Linked DNA regions of Homo sapiens: all the other regions are linked to region 7. The links are contacts of gene promoters, found by promoter capture Hi-C in human tissues and cell types (Jung and others, 2019). All regions are on one chromosome and are shown on one strand. Each heading gives the region's core, a stretch centred on a gene start or on the middle of the fragment in contact. The rest is flanking DNA. Distances are from core to core; before and after follow the strand shown.

Evidence for each region. Contacts are between HindIII fragments. The study calls those that stand out against the background at their distance.
Region 1: a contact is called between a fragment that was not itself captured here and the fragment with the promoter of SKOR2 in region 7, in 4 of the 25 tissues and cell types used here (H1 embryonic stem cells, bladder, mesendoderm cells and 1 more).
Region 2: a contact is called between a fragment that was not itself captured here and the fragment with the promoter of SKOR2 in region 7, in 2 of the 25 tissues and cell types used here (aorta and mesendoderm cells).
Region 3: a contact is called between a fragment that was not itself captured here and the fragment with the promoter of SKOR2 in region 7, in 7 of the 25 tissues and cell types used here (IMR-90 fibroblasts, dorsolateral prefrontal cortex, heart left ventricle and 4 more).
Region 4: a contact is called between a fragment that was not itself captured here and the fragment with the promoter of SKOR2 in region 7, in 4 of the 25 tissues and cell types used here (H1 embryonic stem cells, dorsolateral prefrontal cortex, lymphoblastoid cells and 1 more).
Region 5: a fragment that was not itself captured here is called in contact with the fragment with the promoter of SKOR2 in region 7 in 4 of the 25 tissues and cell types used here (bladder, mesendoderm cells, spleen and 1 more).
Region 6: a contact is called between a fragment that was not itself captured here and the fragment with the promoter of SKOR2 in region 7, in 1 of the 25 tissues and cell types used here (dorsolateral prefrontal cortex).

The regions. Positions count from the first base shown.
Region 1 is chr18:47,583,816-47,586,515 of GRCh38, forward strand. The region is part of intron 2 of MIR4527HG (MIR4527 host gene); the gene reads left to right. Among named protein-coding and RNA genes, the nearest start is that of MIR4527, 200 kb to the left of the region's middle. The HindIII fragment of the contact is 3,652 bases long and covers 1-2,700 here.
Region 2 is chr18:47,607,869-47,610,568 of GRCh38, forward strand. No RefSeq gene overlaps it. Among named protein-coding and RNA genes, the nearest start is that of MIR4527, 230 kb to the left of the region's middle. The HindIII fragment of the contact is 5,012 bases long and covers 1-2,700 here.
Region 3 is chr18:47,722,416-47,725,115 of GRCh38, forward strand. No RefSeq gene overlaps it. Among named protein-coding and RNA genes, the nearest start is that of SMAD2, 210 kb to the right of the region's middle. The HindIII fragment of the contact is 3,467 bases long and covers 1-2,700 here.
Region 4 is chr18:47,634,771-47,637,470 of GRCh38, forward strand. No RefSeq gene overlaps it. Among named protein-coding and RNA genes, the nearest start is that of MIR4527, 260 kb to the left of the region's middle. The HindIII fragment of the contact is 4,400 bases long and covers 1-2,700 here.
Region 5 is chr18:47,683,844-47,686,543 of GRCh38, forward strand. All of the region lies in intron 4 of LOC105372100 (a long non-coding RNA gene), which reads left to right. Among named protein-coding and RNA genes, the nearest start is that of SMAD2, 250 kb to the right of the region's middle. The HindIII fragment of the contact is 3,983 bases long and covers 1-2,700 here.
Region 6 is chr18:47,741,490-47,744,189 of GRCh38, forward strand. No RefSeq gene overlaps it. Among named protein-coding and RNA genes, the nearest start is that of SMAD2, 190 kb to the right of the region's middle. The HindIII fragment of the contact is 3,910 bases long and covers 1-2,700 here.
Region 7 is chr18:47,250,323-47,253,022 of GRCh38, forward strand. It overlaps SKOR2 (SKI family transcriptional corepressor 2), which reads right to left and starts at 1,338. Exons shown (of 9, transcript NM_001278063.4): 1 at 1,052-1,338. RefSeq lists an enhancer at 1,206-1,722. The HindIII fragment of the contact is 10,120 bases long and covers 1-2,700 here.

The DNA.
Region 1 (2,700 bases), core at 54-2,553, 330 kb after region 7:
TGCCCCCTTGCTGTCTTGCAGGCCAGGAGGTCCCCAGTTGGTTCTGGTCTGGTGCAAGTTGTGGCCAAGGGTCTGGCCGATGGACTCACCTAGATTGCTTGGGCTTCTTCCCTTCAACATGGGTGATTTATCTGAGTTTCAGGGTCCACCAGCAACTCTTGCTTCCCTGATGTTGTTAAACAAATCACTTCCTTTGCCAAATAATTAATTTGATGACATTTCTAATTTCTGCTTATCTTCCCTTCAGGACATGCAAACTTCATTTTATGACCCCTGTTCCAAAGGAACACACAGGCCAGAAAGGTCATTAGATGTACAGGTAGAGTCAGGAAGGGACAGATGTTTGCACTGGAGGGATACTAGGAAGCTGGCGGCTGGCAGCCTTTTCTGCTTTTTCCAATCCACATTATTCAAGACAAGGTTTTTTGTTGTGGTAAATCTATATTTGAGGTGAAAATTATTCAGAAGGAAGGCTGAATGCACTTCCTGAAGCCAAAGAGGAGAAAGGACTATTCGTGGATTCCTGGATTGTATGAGCTATGTGATCTGGGCAGGCTGCAAGGAGGAGGAGGATTGTAGGCTAGTCTGGGGGTGGTGTGCTCACACAGATAGAGGGGAGAGAAGGTGCATTCAGGGCGAAGCCACGGGGGTGGACGGTGTTGGTGGGGGGCGTAGGTACTAATGGGAGTAGAAACACAGGGCATGTTTCAGAGATGGTGTTTGGCTGATAGGTTTGATTGTGATCAGCTGGAAGGCTGTCACAAGTCCGGAATACCAGGTGAGGCAGTGGGAACTCTGTGTTCCTGGCAGGAGAAGCAAAAGGCAAAGCTTCCTTCAGCTCCTTCCCATCCCATAACTTTTGCTTGCCACAAGACCCCAAGATGCTGCAGCAACAAGAAAGGCTACTGGATCATCAAATAAACATGTGATTTAATTAAGTAGAATTTTATAATTCATAATTGTGATGTTTTTAAAACAGGGATACTAGTAGCATCATCTTGTGCTGTTTTGTATACAACTTGGTACACTTCCTCTTCATTTATTTGGATCCCAGCCTTGTGAAATGGGAGGAGATGAACAAGTATGTGTGGATGAGGCAGAAAGGGTGGAAGTAACCAAAGCTCAGAGAGATGACACCACCTGCCCAAGACCACAAAGCCGGTCACCTGTGGGTCTTGGGGCCTGTAGCAATTGTCTGTTACTTGAATGTCAAGCTTATAGGGACAGCCCCGGATGTTGCTAGAAGGCAGAATCCAGGAAGCTTCAGGCCGTGGTAGCTGTCACCACCTATAGCCTTTGGTCCAGCTCCCTGGTAAAACACACACCTGTGGGCACCCACAGCACCCTGGGTCTGGGAGAGGGGGTGCAGGTGGTCACTCGGAGCTGAAACCCCATCAGCGGAAACACTCCACATAAAAGGGAGCCAGGGATGCCAATTTCCATTTTCATTAGAGTGGCTGGTGCTTAGTAATCCAGAAGCTTTATTTAAGGGCTGACCTCTGACCGGGCCTGTCACTCCAGTGGCAGGCGCCTGATAGTCACTAGAAATCAATAGCTGGCATGAAGGTCACTTCCTAGAAAAACTGGGGCTATCAACGTGTCAGTTCCAATGAAAGATTATAACCAACCAGCAGAGAAGTTTATCTGTGGCTGAGAGCTTATCTGAGCTGGGCTTGTTGTAGGCTGTACACATGCACATGTGAGTAGCTATGTGTGAGTGGGCAAGTGTGCATGCATGTAGAAATGTGTGCATCTGTGAAACAAAGCACACATGTGCAGGAGAGTGTGTGTGAGTGCTTTTGTGCAGATATGAATGTGCATGTGGGTGCAATCAGTGTGGATAGGTGAGCAAGTGTGTTTAAGTGCAGATGATAATGTGTGTAAGAGAGTTGTGTATTTGTGCTTCTGTGTGTACATGCATTTTCAGGTAAGTTTATGTATGTGTGTCAGTGCACATGTGAACATGTTAAGCACACACATGTGTGCGTATGTGTGGTTGGGTGTGCAGATGCCCATGTTTGTGTATATGGGTGTAAAGGTGCATTTGATAGTATGCATATATCTTACCTGGCCTAGAAGGCCTGAAATACTCTGGCCCCTGTCTACTCAACCAGTCTCTCCTCCCCTCCCTACTCCACGCTGGTCCCTCACTGGGTTCCTTCCTCTTGCCTGAGGATACAAACCATGTCCTCTCAGGACGCTGATACTTCAGGGCTTGCTGCTTCCACCAAGCAATGTCTCTTTCTCGTCTCCTGTACTGCCCCTTTCCTACCACTTGGTTTTCAAATGACATGCTGGCCTCTGAGAGTTACATTCCCAGCCATCTTGAAGGTGTTCCTACATGTATTTCCTCCATGGAAGTTACAACAACGTGTGGGGATCTCAGTTTAGTGAGTTGTTTGTTGTCTGCCCCCTCACAGGCCCCCTATCCATCTCTGCATGGCTGAGCCCTCGCTGAGGTATCTAGGGATCTCGCAAGTGTCTGACACCTCACAGGTGCTGACTCTTTGGCCTCTTTTCAGACAAGGAGAATTCTATCTGCTGAGGAATTCTACACTAGTGCTGTGAACTTAACCTCTCTGGGCCTCAGTTTCCTCATGTGTAAAATGGCAATACCTGCCCTGTCTATGCCACAGAATCAAATGAAATAAATACGATAAAAACCTCTTGGAAAGCATGAATTGCCAGGGGCCTGTCACA
Region 2 (2,700 bases), core at 138-2,637, 360 kb after region 7:
CCTTCTTCCCATCTTCAAAGCCAACAACAGCAAGTTGAGTCTTTCACACATGGCATCACTCTGACCTCCTCGTCTGTCTCCCTTCTCCAACTTTAAGCACCTTGTGATGGCATTGGGCCCACTTTGATACTCCAGGATAATCTCCCTATTGTATGTTCAACTGGTCAACTGATTAACAAGCTTAATTCACCTTTACCATAAAAAGTAGCAGATTCACAGATTCCAGGAATTCAAACATGAACATCTTTGAGGAACCATTATTCTTCCTCCTATAGCAAGGTCAAAGGCACAGAGATGTGTGAGGACTTATTCTGTCTGGGAACAGAGAAGGGTTCAGGGGCAACATGGGGTGTTGACAGAGGAAGAACCAGGTTATAAAAGTTCTTGTATACCAAGTACATTACTTATTCTTCTTTTTCTTTCTTTTTTTTTTTTTTTTTGAAACAGGGTCTCACTCTGTCACCCAGGCTGCAGTGCAGTGGTGTAATCATGGCTCACCAAAACCTTGCCTCCTGGGCTCAGGTGATCCTCCCACCTTAGCCTCCCAAGTAGCTGGGGCCACAGGTGCACACCACCACACCTGGTTAATTTTTGTATTTTTTGTAGAGATGGGATTTTGCCATGTTGCCCAGGCTGGTCTCAAACTCCTGGGCTCAAGGGATCCACCCACCTTGGACTCCCAGCGTGCTAGGATTATGGGCGTGACCTACTGCACCTGGCCTACATTACTTATTCATTAATCACTATGGCATTTAAGTAGATGAGTGACCTTGTCACCTCCATTTTCTGAGCAATCACTGTAGCCAATGAGATAGAGAGGAAATAGAAGGAAGTGAGGCAGGGAGACTGATTAGGAGGCCACTAGAGTCCACAAAGTAGGAGACAAAGTCTGAACTGAGGCAGCAACCATGGAGATGAATAGAGGGTTTGAAGCTACTTTGGAGGAATAATTGCCAGGATTTGAAGATTTCTGTGCTGAGGTGTATAAGGAAGAAGGAGAGGTTAGGGATGGTGGAGATTTCTAGCTTAGGAGCCTGGATGGATGATGGTTCCATTAATTCAGTGGAGACTTATAGGGCAGGGGTGATAACACAGAGTTTTATGTGCCAGTGGGCTACATGGGTGAAGAAGTCCTGTAGGCAGGTCATGAGCTTAGGGCACTAGAACCTCCTGCCCCCTTCCCAAGCGCATTGCAAGCTGGACTAAGAATACCTTCCTGCCCATTCAAGAAGTCAGGAGAACATATTGTTACTCACCAGTTTATCACAGGCAACAGCAAATATGACCTCCTCCTCTGAAGACACTCTAGTGTGGCTCAGACACAAATGTTTCACAGCCCTCTTTGGTGTGTTCACTAGCCTAGGTTCTACAGAGAACCAGAGAGATCTCTGAGGTGCTCCTAAACTTGAGAGATGCCAGGTATCATGGGAAGCCAGGACACAAGAGTCAAGAGAAATGCAATAACACAAGGGCCAAAGAAGAAGCCAGTCTGGCCCAAGCCAGAAGCCTGGGTGTGGTGTAGATGTCTCCTTGCCTCTTACCTTCATATCACTAAGTCCTTTTGATGATATCTTCTAAACACTCTGGATTCTGCTTTTCCTCCTGCTTAAGCTCGGCCTTTCATAGTCTCATTTTAATCAGTATGAAAGCCTCCGAGCCAGTTCCCTGTCTCTGGTCTTGTTCCCCTTCCATCTGTTCTTTAAATGATAGCCAGAGAGCAGCATTTCTCTAACTTTAATCTCATCTTAACACTACTCAACTTCAAATAATTCAATAAAGCATAGAGAGAACATTTTAAATATAGGAGGGAAGCCCTTTCTAAACAGGACGTAAAACAAACAGTCCATAAAAGAAAAGAATGATAAATTTGAATACATTAAAATTAAAATTTTCTACTCGGAAAAGAATGCCATAAACAAAGTCAAAAGACAACAAACTAAGAAAAAAAATATTTGCAATATAAATGACATGGTGCTAATAACCTAAATATATAGATGGTGTCTACAGATCAATAAGAGAAAAACTTAACTATCCAATACAAAAATTGGCAAGGGAACATGAAGAGAAAATAAAATATAGATAGTTTTTATACATATAAAAAGAAAGTCTAACTCACAATAAGAACAATGCCAATTTTTCTAAAATTAGAAACTAACAGATTAACCACATCAAAACATTTGATAATACACTTAATTGATAAGTTTGTAGAGACAGACACTTTCAAATGCTATTGATGGGAATGTACTAGGATTTGGAAACTGCAAATATCTGTCTTTTTAAAATATTGTATTAAATATATTCTTTGACAAATATATTCAAAGAACATATTGTTTGAAATTATGTATGTATAAAATTATTTCATAAACCCAGATATAGTTACATATATGTGAGCACAAAATTACATGTAAGAGCATTCACTAAAAATATCTCAAATGTCAAACAGAGAACTGATTAAATAATCATAGTTTATGTGTAGTATAGAATGCTCTATAACTATTAAAAAGAATAAAGCGGAAAAAAGAATGAGGTAGTGCTACATGCTTACTATGGAACAATCTCCAAGATAAAATACTAGCAATAAAAGAAATATTATATAGCATCTACTATATGTCAGGCATTATTCTAGAAGCTTTATATATTTATGTATAGTTTTATATTAATAGCATATTTCTATATATTTAACTCATTTAGTGATTACAA
Region 3 (2,700 bases), core at 106-2,605, 470 kb after region 7:
CATCTGCTGTTCCCCCAAACCCCATCACTGTCTCTTCCCCAGGCCAGGCCAGATATCACACCTCTGCAGGTAGAGGAAGGGTTTCAGAGATAATCCCAGTCAAAGCCACAAGTTTTCTTTCAGTAAAACTTGGAAACAGACTGGCCATGACCCATGGGATGCCAAATGCCATTAAGGGGAACCTAAAGAGGGAGAGTTGTGTCTGAACAGCTGGTGAGTTTACCCCTTGGGCCTGTATGCTCTTAAAGGGGCATTTCTTCTTCCACCAGTTGAGCCTTCCTCGCCCAGGCCAGGGCTGCCATGCAAGGATGCTGGGATTACATCCTGCACAGCCCCACGGGCTCTGTTCTACATGAAAGGCATTGCTGGGGTTGTGCAGTAGACAACCTGTGCAGCTGCATAGGGCAACCCTGTTCTCAGTCTCTGCCAGAACTTCCCTCCCTTTGCTTGGCATTCAAGCACCTTTCATGGTGCTTCTTCTACAAGACAAAGGCACTGGCAGGAAAGTCAAGGAAAACCCAGATTTTCCTCTAGTCTCACTGTCCAGCCAGCGTGACAAGTGCCTCCACACAAGAGAGGATCTCCCAGTTCCTACCTGGGCACACCAAAAAACACACCCACTCTGCTATGGAGAAGCTCCTCCTAGGCTGAGCTGACATTCAGCAACCAGGCCCTGCCCTAGCTCTTCAGGGGTGGACCGAGGATTCTAGAGCTCCAGCCACCTGCAGACTCCTCAACAGACTTCCAAATGCACCAGTGTGGAGGATCCTGGGATATGCTTCAGAGGCTTAGCTTGGGGACTGCGCACTCCCATGTGTGACCCCAGGGCTGGTTTCAGTGAGGCCAGCCAGAAACCATTGTCAGGCCATGCACAATAGGGTGTGGCAGTAACATAAGAAGAGAGCAGGAGGTATTAGGATCTCTGGATTTGCTCTTCCTCCACAGCCTCCCATGGAAACTGCCTTCTCTCACCCTCCCTCATTTGTCCCTTCAGCCAGATCAGCCTCCTCATGGTCCCCGCTAGACTGTGTCTGCCCTTTGGCTCATGCCATTTTCTGACCCACCTGCCTCACTCCATCTCACTCAGCCCCAACATCCAGCTCCATCCTCCTTCTCCATGGCGCCCCCCCAGAAACAATCCTCCAGTTTCAAACTCCCATGGCAGTTATCAGTTCCACACAGGTGACAATTATTATCTACTTCCTCCTATTATTGAATTACTTGATGTCATTTGCACACACATGGTCATGCGGTATTTATGAACATGCATGGCTGAATAAATGAATGAATAAATCAATCAATCTGGTATCAGTATTATAACTAAGGTCCCAGTGCCTTTGCAAAAACCATGTGCATATTCAACATATAGATATAAGACCTACAACCCTGAACACCTGTAACTGATTCCAAGGTGTGCAAGGGTTGGCAGATGCCACTGGGAGAGCGGTCCATTTCACTGGTAGCTGCAAACAAAGTCAGCCAGTTAATAGAAACCTGTTTCTAATTGCTTGACATATAATAGATACACCTCCAAGCAGCTGAGACCACCGAATCCCATTCAAAGCCCTGCTTCCCGGCTTACACCTAAGCCTTTCATGTTTTATTAGAGCCCTGCACATTTCATTTCCTTTTATGTGGGGAAGAAAATGGACCCTTGGTTCTAGAAGGGGCATTCACAGACACACTTTTACTTATTGAAGGGCAGCTTTGTAGAAAGCAAACCCCCTGCCTCGGGTTTGTGGATTCAGGTTCAAGGAAGGTGGAGAAGACAGCGGTCACTTTCTCTCCCCCAGTATCATCCAGAAACATGAAGATCTCAATCACATCCAGCCCAGGGTGAGACCCTGTGTGAACACAGCCATGTAGCCCCTGCTCCCCACGCTTGTACACTTAGCTGCCACCCCAAGAGCAGAGCAGCCCCCACAACACATTCCCAGTGTGGCCAGTGTCTCAGAGTGGACAAACCAGCAAAGGCAGTCATAAATCAGGGCTCCCATCACTCCCACACCCCATCTTCCCCTGCCTCTCCCAGCCTGGACATGGAGTCCACCCACAGCTCTGCTGGCAGAGGACCGGCAGCCTTGACCCCACCGGCCGGCAGTGGCCTGGAATCCACCATCCTGCTCAAACTCGGACACGTACTGGGGATTAAAACACCCTTCACCCCCCAGGGGCCCAAGAGTGTCAGAATTTCCAGCCTGCTCCTGTCCTTCTGCTCCAGCCAGAGGAGCAGGAGGGGCTTGTGCACTGCACTTGCCTGCTGTGTCCTCCCACCCCTGTTGGACTACAGCCTAGGCTCAGAGGAGACACCAGGCCCAGCTTTTGTCCTGCTCCCTAGACCACACCCCCAGCCACAACCACCAGCCAGGTTCCTGTCACGGCTGGACAGCTCCCTCCAAAACTCGGTGTGGAGAATTGCCCCTGCCAGGAAGCTTCTTCCATGCTCAAGCCTTTATGAGACTTGAATTTTCAGAGCAGAACTGCTGGGGCACTGCAGCTCCTGCTGGGTGGTTTTCAGGGGCCATCTTCTGTAGCTGGGCCAGTCCCTGCAGCCTCCCACTCCTGCACCATGACAAGCGAGGCCCTTGGTAAGCCTCATCACATTGGCAGCAGTGCAGCTGCTCAACCTTTATGAAACAATAGGTGTATGCAAGGCCTGCCTTTTTGCATATCATGTATGATCCATTTCAAAAGCTTCTG
Region 4 (2,700 bases), core at 15-2,514, 380 kb after region 7:
GTGAAACTGAAGATGCTCACAAGCTTCCCTTCTTCTACTTAGAGGTGACTTCTTCCAGCCATGGAAATGACAAAACTACTCCCCCAATTACTTCCATGTCCCACCCTAAGTACCTGGGACACAGACATGTACAGATCAGAAACCTCCTGGATCCCTCAACCTGCATGGTCCCTCCCTCCTTTGCCAGAACTTACTGTCGGGGCCACTCTTTTAGTACCTGTTATATGCTCTGCCTCACATACTTGTTTTTATTTCTTAATAATAAAATTTGTGAGTAAATTCCATGAACAAGAACAGTTTCTTACATGTATCCTCCACGGAACTGCCCAATCATAAATAATCAATAAATGTCTGTTTATTAACTGGGTGGCCAATTTACATAGTAAGTAAATATTAATTCCTTTTATTTTGTAAACACTTCTTGAGCATTTGTGATGTGCCAGGCACTGGGGTAAGAGCCCTCTTTGCCACCAAGCCACTCATGCTCTTGTGGGGAAAATAGACACATAAAGAAGCACTAGGTCAAAGACAAGTTGAGACAGAGACAAGTGTGGGACACTGTGGTGTCATGGGGAAGGGTACCTGGCCTGGGCCTGGGGGCGTTGGAATTGAAAGCTTCTTGGAGGCAGGAGGACAACAATGATTCGAACCCAAGCCTCCACTCGTATCCAATTGTCTTTTCAATGGGAACTCAAATTTTAAAAGAGATAATCCTTATTACCTGCCTAATTTATTTTTTAGAAGTGGAGATGTATAACCTGGGTGAGCTGAGCTGCAGGGCAGGCTGCGTCCCTAGCAATTGGCATGGGCTTTATCAGAGTGGCACTACACTTTGGGGGTGTTGTCACACCCTTCTGACAGCTGATTCCATTTCTGTTACAACCGGCCCAAGTGTCTCAGGGCTGGTTGGGAAAGTGTCTGAGTGTTTATCACAGGGGCTGTGGTTGGCAGAAGCCTTCAGAGTAACACAACGACTAAGAACACACCCTTCAATGTCGGGCTCTATAAAACTTACTGCCTATGTGACTTAAACTTAACTGCTCTATGCTCAGTTTCTTCACCTTTAAAATAAGGATGATAACAGTGTGGGGAAAGATCAAATGAGATAATTTGAAGCTTTCTGTGTCTGGCTTCCTTCACTCGGCAAATACTTTTGAGACATATCCATGTTGTTGCATGTACAAGTCATTCATTCCTTTTTATTGCTGAGTAGTATTCCAGTGTATGAATATATCAAAAATTATTTATTTTCTTACCTGTTGATGGACACTTGGGTTATTTCCTGTTTGAAGCTATTATCAGTAAAGCTACTATAAACATATACAGGCATTTGTGTGGACATGCTTTTTTTATTTTCCTTTTCTGTCATATGGCAAGTGTATACTTAATTAAATAAGAAACTGTCAAAGTGTTTTCCAAAGAGCCTGGCCCATTCTGCATTCCAATCAGTAATGTATGAGTGATTCGGTAGCTGCACATCCTCATCAATACTTGGTATAATTTAGCCATTCTAGTGTGTTTGTAGTGGATCTTGTTATGGTTTTAATTTGCATTTCTTTTTCTTTTCTTTTTTTTTTTTTTTTTTTTTTTGAGACAGTCTCACTCTGTCACCCAGGCTAGAGTGCAGTGGCACAATCTCGGCTCACCACAACCTCCACCTCCTGGGTTCAAGTGACTCTCCTGCCTTAGCCTCCCAAGTAGCTGGGACTACAGGCATGCGCCACCATGCCCGACTAATTTTTGTATTTTTAGTAGAGACAGGGTTTCACTATGTTGGCCAGGCTGGTCTCCAACTCCTGACCTCATGACCCGCCTGCCTTAGCCTCCCAAAGTGCTGGGATTACAGGCATGAGCCACTGCACCCAATTTCTAAGCAACTTTTGACTCTTTTAGAAAAATTACATCCACCTTAAACGATTAAAAACATATGAAGATATTTGAGGGCTTATGCCAAGATTGTGATGGAAATTCCCAAAGATGATTCTAGTTATGCTCAGCAAAGTCCACATAGTGAAAACCCACAGACAGCCTTCCAACAAGCTACTTTGAAGGACTTTGTTGTCTCTCCTGAAGAGACAACATTCATCTGAGCATGGTGTTTTGAACTAATTGTTTTTAAAACTCAATCCTGTTACCTCATAGCAGACTCTTTGGCAATAGAAAATGGTAATTAATAGAGTCTGGGGTCAGTTTGCCTTGGTTCATAGCACTTACTAATTCTTCAACCTCAGTTTCCTCGTCTATTCAGATTAAATGAGTTACTATACATGAAGGACTCAGAAAATACCTGGCACATACTAAGTACTCAACACAAGTTTTCATCATATGTCTTCAGCAACTTTTTTGCTCTTTGTCATTAACACTTTTTGTCCCATTATACTCTTAACAATTCTGAACTCCTCAGCTTATTCTGGTTCTAGAGCTTAATGAAATTTGAGCAAGAATCCTGTAGTTATTCAATCCACTGGATTAGGTACTCCAAGCTTATAGCATGGAGAAATGTGTAAACCTTTCACTGCATAGATAGGGTATGAAATACATTTGGAAATGGGGAGGTCAAGCCAAGATGGCCGAATAGGAACAGCTCTGGTCTACAGCTCCCAGCATAAGCGACGCAGAAGAAGGGTGATTTCTGCACTTCCATCTGAGGTACTGGGTTCATCTCACTAGGGAGTGCCAGACAGTGGGCGCAGGACAGTG
Region 5 (2,700 bases), core at 99-2,598, 430 kb after region 7:
ACCCTTGGTTGACTACACTCCATGAAGTGCTGGCTGATGGCTACTACACATAAGTCCTGGAATGTTTGCATTCTCATAGGGGGCTACAGACTCTTAAACCAGCATCAGCCAAACAAGTTGAGCTGAAGTTAAGTGGCCAGTGACTCACCACAGTGCTGAGGGAGGAGTTTGGACAGGAAGGCCTAGCTTCATCCCTCAATTCATACTCAATTTCCTATTATCCTGTTTTATTTAGGGTGACTAGGTGAGGTGAGTGAGGCTCCTAGGGAGCAAAATTGAAGAAAGTGTAGAGCTGGCATTTGCATGCCTCTGACAGTGAGTTCCTTCTCAAATCTGCACCCTAGGAAGGTGGCAGAGATATCAGCCCCATTCCCTCTCCTCACTAGTTATTCCTCTGCCATAAACATGAGCCTGAACTCATGGCTCTTAGGCCTGCAAGGAACTTGGAGAGCTCCTCTGACTCAGCCCCCAGTGTTCAGAGGTGAGGCAGCAAGGACCCAAGGTGTTAAGGCTGGACCTAGACCTGGATGGGGTGCCATGGAGGAAGATGGGGGACTTAGGAATGGGATTGGTGGCTGGGCTCTTTGCTCTTTGATCACACCACACACACACACACACACACACACACACACACACACACACACACACACAGAGAGAGAGAGAGAGAGCCCTGAGAAGACCTATAGTGAGGCAAGACTCCTCACTATTCTTCTAGGTCTCCAGCACATGGACAAAGGGAGGAAAGCACAGAGGATGGCTTTGAGAGAAGATTGGTTAAAGAAAGCGATAAGGAGAAGTGGGAAAGGGTCACCAGAACCTGTGGCCTGGCCCCATGGGATCTCTGTGAAATGTCCTCCTTCATAAAAAAAAAATATATATAATATATATATTTTATATATATATATTTTATATATATTATATATATTTTATATATATTATATATATTATATATATTTTATATATATTATATATTATATATATTTTATATATTTTATATATATTATATATATTATATATATTATATATATAATATATAAAATATATATTTTATATATAATATATATTTTATATATAATATATATTTAATATATTATATATATATTTTATATATATTATCTATTATATATATTTTATATATATTATCTATTATATATTTTATATATATATTTTATATATATTATATATATTTTATATATTTTTATATATATATATATCAAGAACTCAATAGTTACTCACATACTAAGAGCCTACTATGTACCTAGACTGTTCTAAGTGTGGGGAAGGAGTGGGGAAGCAAACAAGCGTAAGGCATGTAGCTTGCCCTGGAGGCATTGACAAGCCTGTAGGGGAGAAAAAGATTTGACAAGTTAGCAAATCATGTAAGTCAGGAACTTCCAGCAGGAACAGGAGTGACTGCTGGGGCAAGGGATCTATGGGGATACAAGAGCAGGTGTGTAAGTCAGAATAGGCTAGGTTATGCTGCAGTAACCAATGACTCCAAACTGTCTGTGGCTGACAACAGCAACAGTCTGTATCAGATTGATTTCCAGCTCACTGCACATGAACAAGCTATGCTCTGTTCCATCGTTTTCGTTTGAACCCAGGCTGATGGAGCAGTCTCTATCCAGGACATTTCTATTTGTCATGATAGAGAGAAAAGAGAAAACCAGTTGGTAAAGCTTCTCCTTGGACTGTAATACTTGTCATGTCCCCTCACAGTTCATGGAATGAGATTCACACTGAGTGTCATTCCACTCATGTTATGACCAAAGCAAGTCACATGCCCAAGCCAACCATTGATGGAACAGGGAGATATAATTATCCTCAGGAAAGAACAGAAAGTATCTGAGAATAATAATACAATCTCCTACAGCAGGGAAAGCTTCCTGGGGAAGAAACAATGTGACATGGGTCTTGCAAGATGAATACATTTGAAAGAAAACATCAGTCCAGAAAGGCAGCATATTCTAATGATTAGAAGTGCAGGTTCCAGAAGCAGACTGCCTGGATTAAGCTCTCTGTCCCTCAGTTTTCTCATCTGTTATATGAGAATATGAATAAAACATATTAGACAGCGTTGCTGTGAAGCTAAATGAATTAATACAAATAAATTTTGAGGGGATGGTGCCCGGAACATAGTAAATAAATACCTATAAAATATACTAGATGAATACCAGGTCTTATTATTATTTCAGATTTTGTGGAAGCCCAAAGGATTAAAGATTCAGGGTGCATTTGGAGGACAATGCAGTAGAGAACATTCTTATAGAAGTAAAAGAGTTACAGTAGACAGGACTAGCAGACAACCCCCAAAAACTGAGAGAATCAAGCCTGATTATGGAAGACCATGGATGCCAAGCTAAGAGGTGTGGGTGTGACTGATTCATGAATGTATGGACCAATGAGCCGACTCTCAGTGATCCCTTGGAAGTGTCATGGGGGTTTCCATTAAGTTTAGGTCAACTCTTCCACTGCCACAGGGAAATGGCAGTCTTAAGTCACAGTGGTGTCATGCACTGCTGTGTCAGAGCTCCTTCTCAGACAAGCTAGGTGACCCTAGACAAGTTCCTTCACCTCTCTGGGTCCTGAGTCTCCCCCTCTGTGAAAGGAGAGGCAGGCTTCAGGATTGGCAGGGGCCCTTCTGGCTCAGCCATCCCTATCACTCTTCTCCACTCTCCCAATCTACATCGGGCCTGGAAC
Region 6 (2,700 bases), core at 13-2,512, 490 kb after region 7:
GTTTTCCTCCAGATTCAGTCTTTTCCTGTATTTGTTGTATGTAAGATGCTCAATTATATAATGCCCATCTCAATTTTATTCAGATAAATTTGGGCAGAAAGTAATTGTGTATTTTTATCATAGAAGCATTGAGAGTTATTTGAAAGTGTTTTAAAAGTGATTTCGTGAAGGAAAATATGTTATTGTGTCCATATTATCATTCAGAAATGTTTAGCTTTGTTAAACAAAGAGCACACAAAATAGTAATTTAAAAGTGTAGAAATGTATTTTTCTCTCAAGTGAAAGACAGCTCAATGGCAATGACTCTGCATGATGTCAGAAATTCAGGCTTGTTCTATCTTATTGCTTTGCAGAACAGGGCTGCTTCTTCCAACATTATCTCATGGTTCAGTATGGCTGCTAGGACTGCAACCATCACATCTCTTTACATGCAGAAAGAAAAAGAAGGGCATCCCAGTCTTTTAAAGAGATTAATCAACAGAAGACCCTAAAAGCTTCCAGAGTGTAGAAAAAGATCCCATTTAAAATAAAAGATCATATCCAAATGATTCAGAATCAGAATATCTATAGCAATACTGGAAGCTAAAAGACAACGAAACAATGCTTTCAAAGAGGGTAGAAAAATATTCTCCAATTTATAATTCTATAACCAACCAAACTGCCAAGAGTGAGAGTTTTTCATTTTTCACAGGAAACTACTGAATGATACAGATCTCCAAAATAAGGAAGTAAACCTAGAAAAAGAAAGACATGGGACCCAAGAATCCCACCAAGAAAAGAGGTGAAGAAAAATCCCAGGATGATAGCTAATCAAATAGTTAACATATTTCAACATATTCTAAAGAGATTTTCAATTCTGTAGAAGAATTTAGGAATAGATTTGCAATACACTAACAAGTTATAAACTAAGCAAATGAAAACAAAAGCAAGTATCAATCCAGGAGGAAGAAAAAAGAATTATACTCATAGCACCCTACATGGCTTAGCTATGAATATTTATATGCTCATACTAATATAAATACCCAACTAGTGACTTTTATGAAAAATTGTGATACAGCTCTATTGGAGGATGGGGGAAGGATAGTTTGTGTGTTTGGTGAGAGAGCAAATGGGTGTGTAAAGAGCTAAAATTTAATTATCTGTGGTTGAAAGTCAATCAATAACTCTTAAAACTGAGAAATCAAGAAATAGCTACCTATGCAAGAAATTTTAAAATATAGAAGTAAATAGCAGATTAAATAGCTAAAAGAGTTGAGAGGGGTTACTCTGGGGAGTGCAGATTTAGGATGGGGAGAACAGGATAACAAACCACTCTCTTATGTTATCTAATAATATTTTTGTCTAAATAACTGTAATAGTTTGTTAAACAACATAAATATATTAATATTTTATATATCAATATGTTAGTATTTTTATATATCAATATCTTAATGTTGTAAAGGTATTAATGCCAGGCTATTTGGGATACTTTTTCCTTGCTGACAGGGGAGGAGATGGAGGAAGGCAGGCATCCTACACACTAGCCAAAGACAATAATTCTTCCAAAGAAGAACTGGAAGGCTGGTAAATGTTCTGAACCCTTACTTGTCTGATGTAGCTTCATTTTACCCTCGCACTTGAATGATCATTTATGTTCAAAGCCATTTCCCCTCAGAGCTTTGAAAACATTGCTCCATTATTTTCTTGTATCCAATTGTGCTAATGAGGAATATGATATCAATCCAATTCTTGTTCCTATGCGTAGTGGGTTGGAGTGAGTTACCCAAAAAGACACATTTAAGTCCCAGACCCAACCCCCAGCACTTGTTAGTGTGACCTTATTTGCAAGGAGGGTGTGTGCAGATATAATTAAGGATCTTGAGATGGGATCTTTTAGGGTGGGCCCTAAGTCCAAGGACTGGGGTCCTTATAAGAAAAGGAAAGAATGCAGAGACACAGAGAAGGCTATGTGGAGATGGAAGCAAAGAGCAGGATCATGGAGCTGCAGGCCAAGGAGTGCCAAGGGTTGACAGGAGCCACCCAAGCTAGGAGAGAGGCATGGAACAGGCTCTCCCTCACAGCCTCCAAGAAGAATCAACCCTTCTACACTTCAGAACTGTGATAATTAAATTTCTGTTGTTTTAAGCCACTCAGTTTGTGATAATTTGTTACAGAAGCCCCAGGGAGTGAATATACAGTTGACCCTTGAACCACATGGGTTTGCACTGCACAGATCCACTTACAGGCAGGTCTCCTTCCGCCTCTGCCACCCCTGAGACAGCAAAACCAACCCTTCCTCTTCCTCCTCCTCAGCCTACTCGACATGATGCTCCACTTCCACTTAGTAAATAATAAATAGATTTCCTCTTCTTCATGATTTTTTTTCTGTTTTTTTCTTTTCTTTTTTTTCTTAGAGACAGGGTCTTGCTCTGACTGCCAGGCTGGAGTGCAATGCCACCATCATAGCTCACTGCAGCCTCGAACTCCTGGGCTCAAGTGATCCTCCTGCCTCAACCTCCCAAAATGCTGGGATTAGAGGCATGAGCCACCACACCTGGCCCTGCGATTTTCTTGATAACATTTTCTTTTCTCTGGCTTCCTTTATTGTAAGGATACAGTGTCTAACACATATGACATACAAAGTATCTGTTAATCAACTGTTTACATTATTGGTGAGGCTTCCAGTCAACAGCAGGCCATTAGTAGTTAAGTTTTAGTAGA
Region 7 (2,700 bases), core at 88-2,587:
CAGAATGCCACAATGAGGGAAAATATTCAGTAAGTTGAAAATACAGAACAAGGAAGCGGAAAGAAATTTTAGTGACAATGCCACTAAGTGGAAAGAAGGAAAGTGGCTCACTCCCTAGGAAAACAAACACTGATCTTTCCACAGCTACATCTCAAGCGCATTGGCCAAGGCATGCTTTGCCCTGAAAAATCACCAGAGGCCATAGCGTGGCCCCTTTCGGCCACGTACAGCGAGTTCGCTATTACAGTGCTTTCAGAGGGTACACGATCTTACTCCCTCACCCAATTTCTTATCCGTGTCCTCTCTCTGGGCCCCTGTGGCATCTATACAGCAGCCTCTGTCCTGCTGCCCCCTGGATCCTCAGTTCTCATTACATTTGGCGGCCTCCAGGAAGCTTGAACAAACCTCGACGCGATCAAAGGAGAGGAAAGCCTGCTTGTCACTTTGGGTGGATCAGAGACAATATTTCCAGGGGACAGGGCGTTACATGGCAGTTCAAGGCGCAGTGACACCCGAGTCTGATACAACCAACACTAGCTTCGTCAGGTGGCCCTTCGATGCTCATTTCCCTACCAAACAAGATTCATATCCGCTTAATAAGACCCTGGGATAATTCCAACTCTCGCTCCCCAGCAAGGCGCGCGGCTGGCCAGCCGGGGCGGGAAGCTGGCTCTGCGTTAAGGACTCGCAGCCTTAGCAGCAGTAGACCAGGCAGAAGTGTCTCCTCACTTTTACCCCAAGCCCTCCCAGAAACTGCCGTCAGAGCAGACACAAGGTTTTGGTTGGGGCATTATTTTTTGGGTGGGTGGGGAGGGGAGAAGAGACAATTAAAAGTTAGTTGAACTGAGAAAGGAACCTGGTGAACTTCCCTATCCTGCCCAACAGCCAAAGACCCCCCCACCCCCAACTTAGTTCTCCCGACTCCCAAACCAGTCACCACGGAAGCCCACCGCTGCCCCTCAACCTAACGCGGAAAATCCTACCGCTGGGGATCTCAAATAGGTGCCCAGCAAGCTGTGTGCCGGATTGGGGCGGCCGGTTCCGGCAATACCTGGTAACCTCTGGGTGTCTTTAGGCGTGTGGCTGCCGGCCCATCTTCCGAGGGCGCTCGGAGGCGAAGCATCCAAGCGGGTCCTCGTATCCAGCGGGCGGGACTCTGGCGGGCTCCGCGCGAAGATCCGGGCTCTGGCCCGAGCGAATGGCGCTCAAACCCCGGCCTGGGGAGAATGACGGCCTGAATTGCGGCGGGGCGTCCCCTCCACCGCAGAAAGTGTGGGTACGCAGAAACCCGCGGCAGGAGAGCCCCAAGTGGAGCGCAGTCTGACAGCGTCTGTCTCTGAACTCGTGTCGGACCGAGGGGACGCCACCCAGCGGGCAGGGTGACGTCACCGTCTCCCTGACACTCCACATTAAAGGGCTGGCATGTTACAGGGAGGGAGGGGGAGAGCGAAAGCCAGCGCGAGCAACAGAGAGATCCTTTCTCAGCAGGCACGAAAGCTACCAACCTAACCAACTCGCAATTGACAACAACCTCCTCAGCCCCGGAGTAAACTGCAGCAATGGTGCTGGAGCCGCAGATCTGATTTAGGAGTGGAAAGCGAACAGTCTGCCTGCATCCCGGGACCTAGATCCTGGAGGCCCCGGATTCTAGAAGGACGCCTCCAAATTAACTATATCCCTGACCGTTATTGTCTCCTCCCCTCATTTCTGAGTCACCCTCCTTCATGAATGATCCCTCTGGTACAGGATGCAAAGCTGCTCTGTGTCTGAAGACAGAATCCACAGTCAGCTGGAGAATAAATTAGCTTCAGTGACTCCTTTGAAACGCTATGAAATGAGAAAAAGGAGAGAAGTTTCCACATAGGGTGCCCAATCAGAAAACTTGGAGTGCCCCGACTTTTGCATATACATTTGCTTTATAGGACAAGATGCAGAGTCACTGCAGCCTTCTCTATTTTATGGAGTGTACAATTAGGTGAGGACCCCAATATGTGCATATGCACATCGATTTATCAAACTTCATTCAGAATCGTCCTCTAACCCATTTTACAAGATCCGTAAGGCTACCTCTACACAAGGAAAGGGTGGGGCAGGGAAGCAGGGAGGTCCCCCACATGGAAGAGTCCTTCAGCAAGTTGCCAATTTTCCTGGAGAAATAAATAAATTTAATCAGGAAAACATGTAGAAGCATGATCTCCTCCCCTAAAATAAAGACTAGGATGAGAAAACATTTCCTCACAGTTTCCCTAAATGAGGCGCACCCTAGTGTATTAATGAAGTGTCAATATAGTGCGTCCCAATTGACCAGCTGTTAAGAGTCAAAACGACCACTGGCTAGTTTATCGGAAAGGAAAGAAACCACTTATTTGGAGTATGTTCTAAGAAGGATGCCGGCTGGGGTGGGGCTGGGAAATCCTTTAAGTTTTTCCTTTACTACCATAGCTGAATTTTCAATTGCTGCCTAGTGAAACAGTCCTAGCATTGTGGAAATGATGGAAAAACATCTACCAAGCTGAAAGCCCACCCAGATTGTGTCATAGCACCAACAACATACCACTCCTAAATACAAGAGCAAAAATGTGAAATCTTAACCTTCATCAAAGGTTAATAAACCCAAGGAAAGTCAATTGAACAGAAACGTGAGGGGCTTGTTGCTCAGGAGTTGTGTCTATTTTAAATTAATATCCTGAAAACACAGTT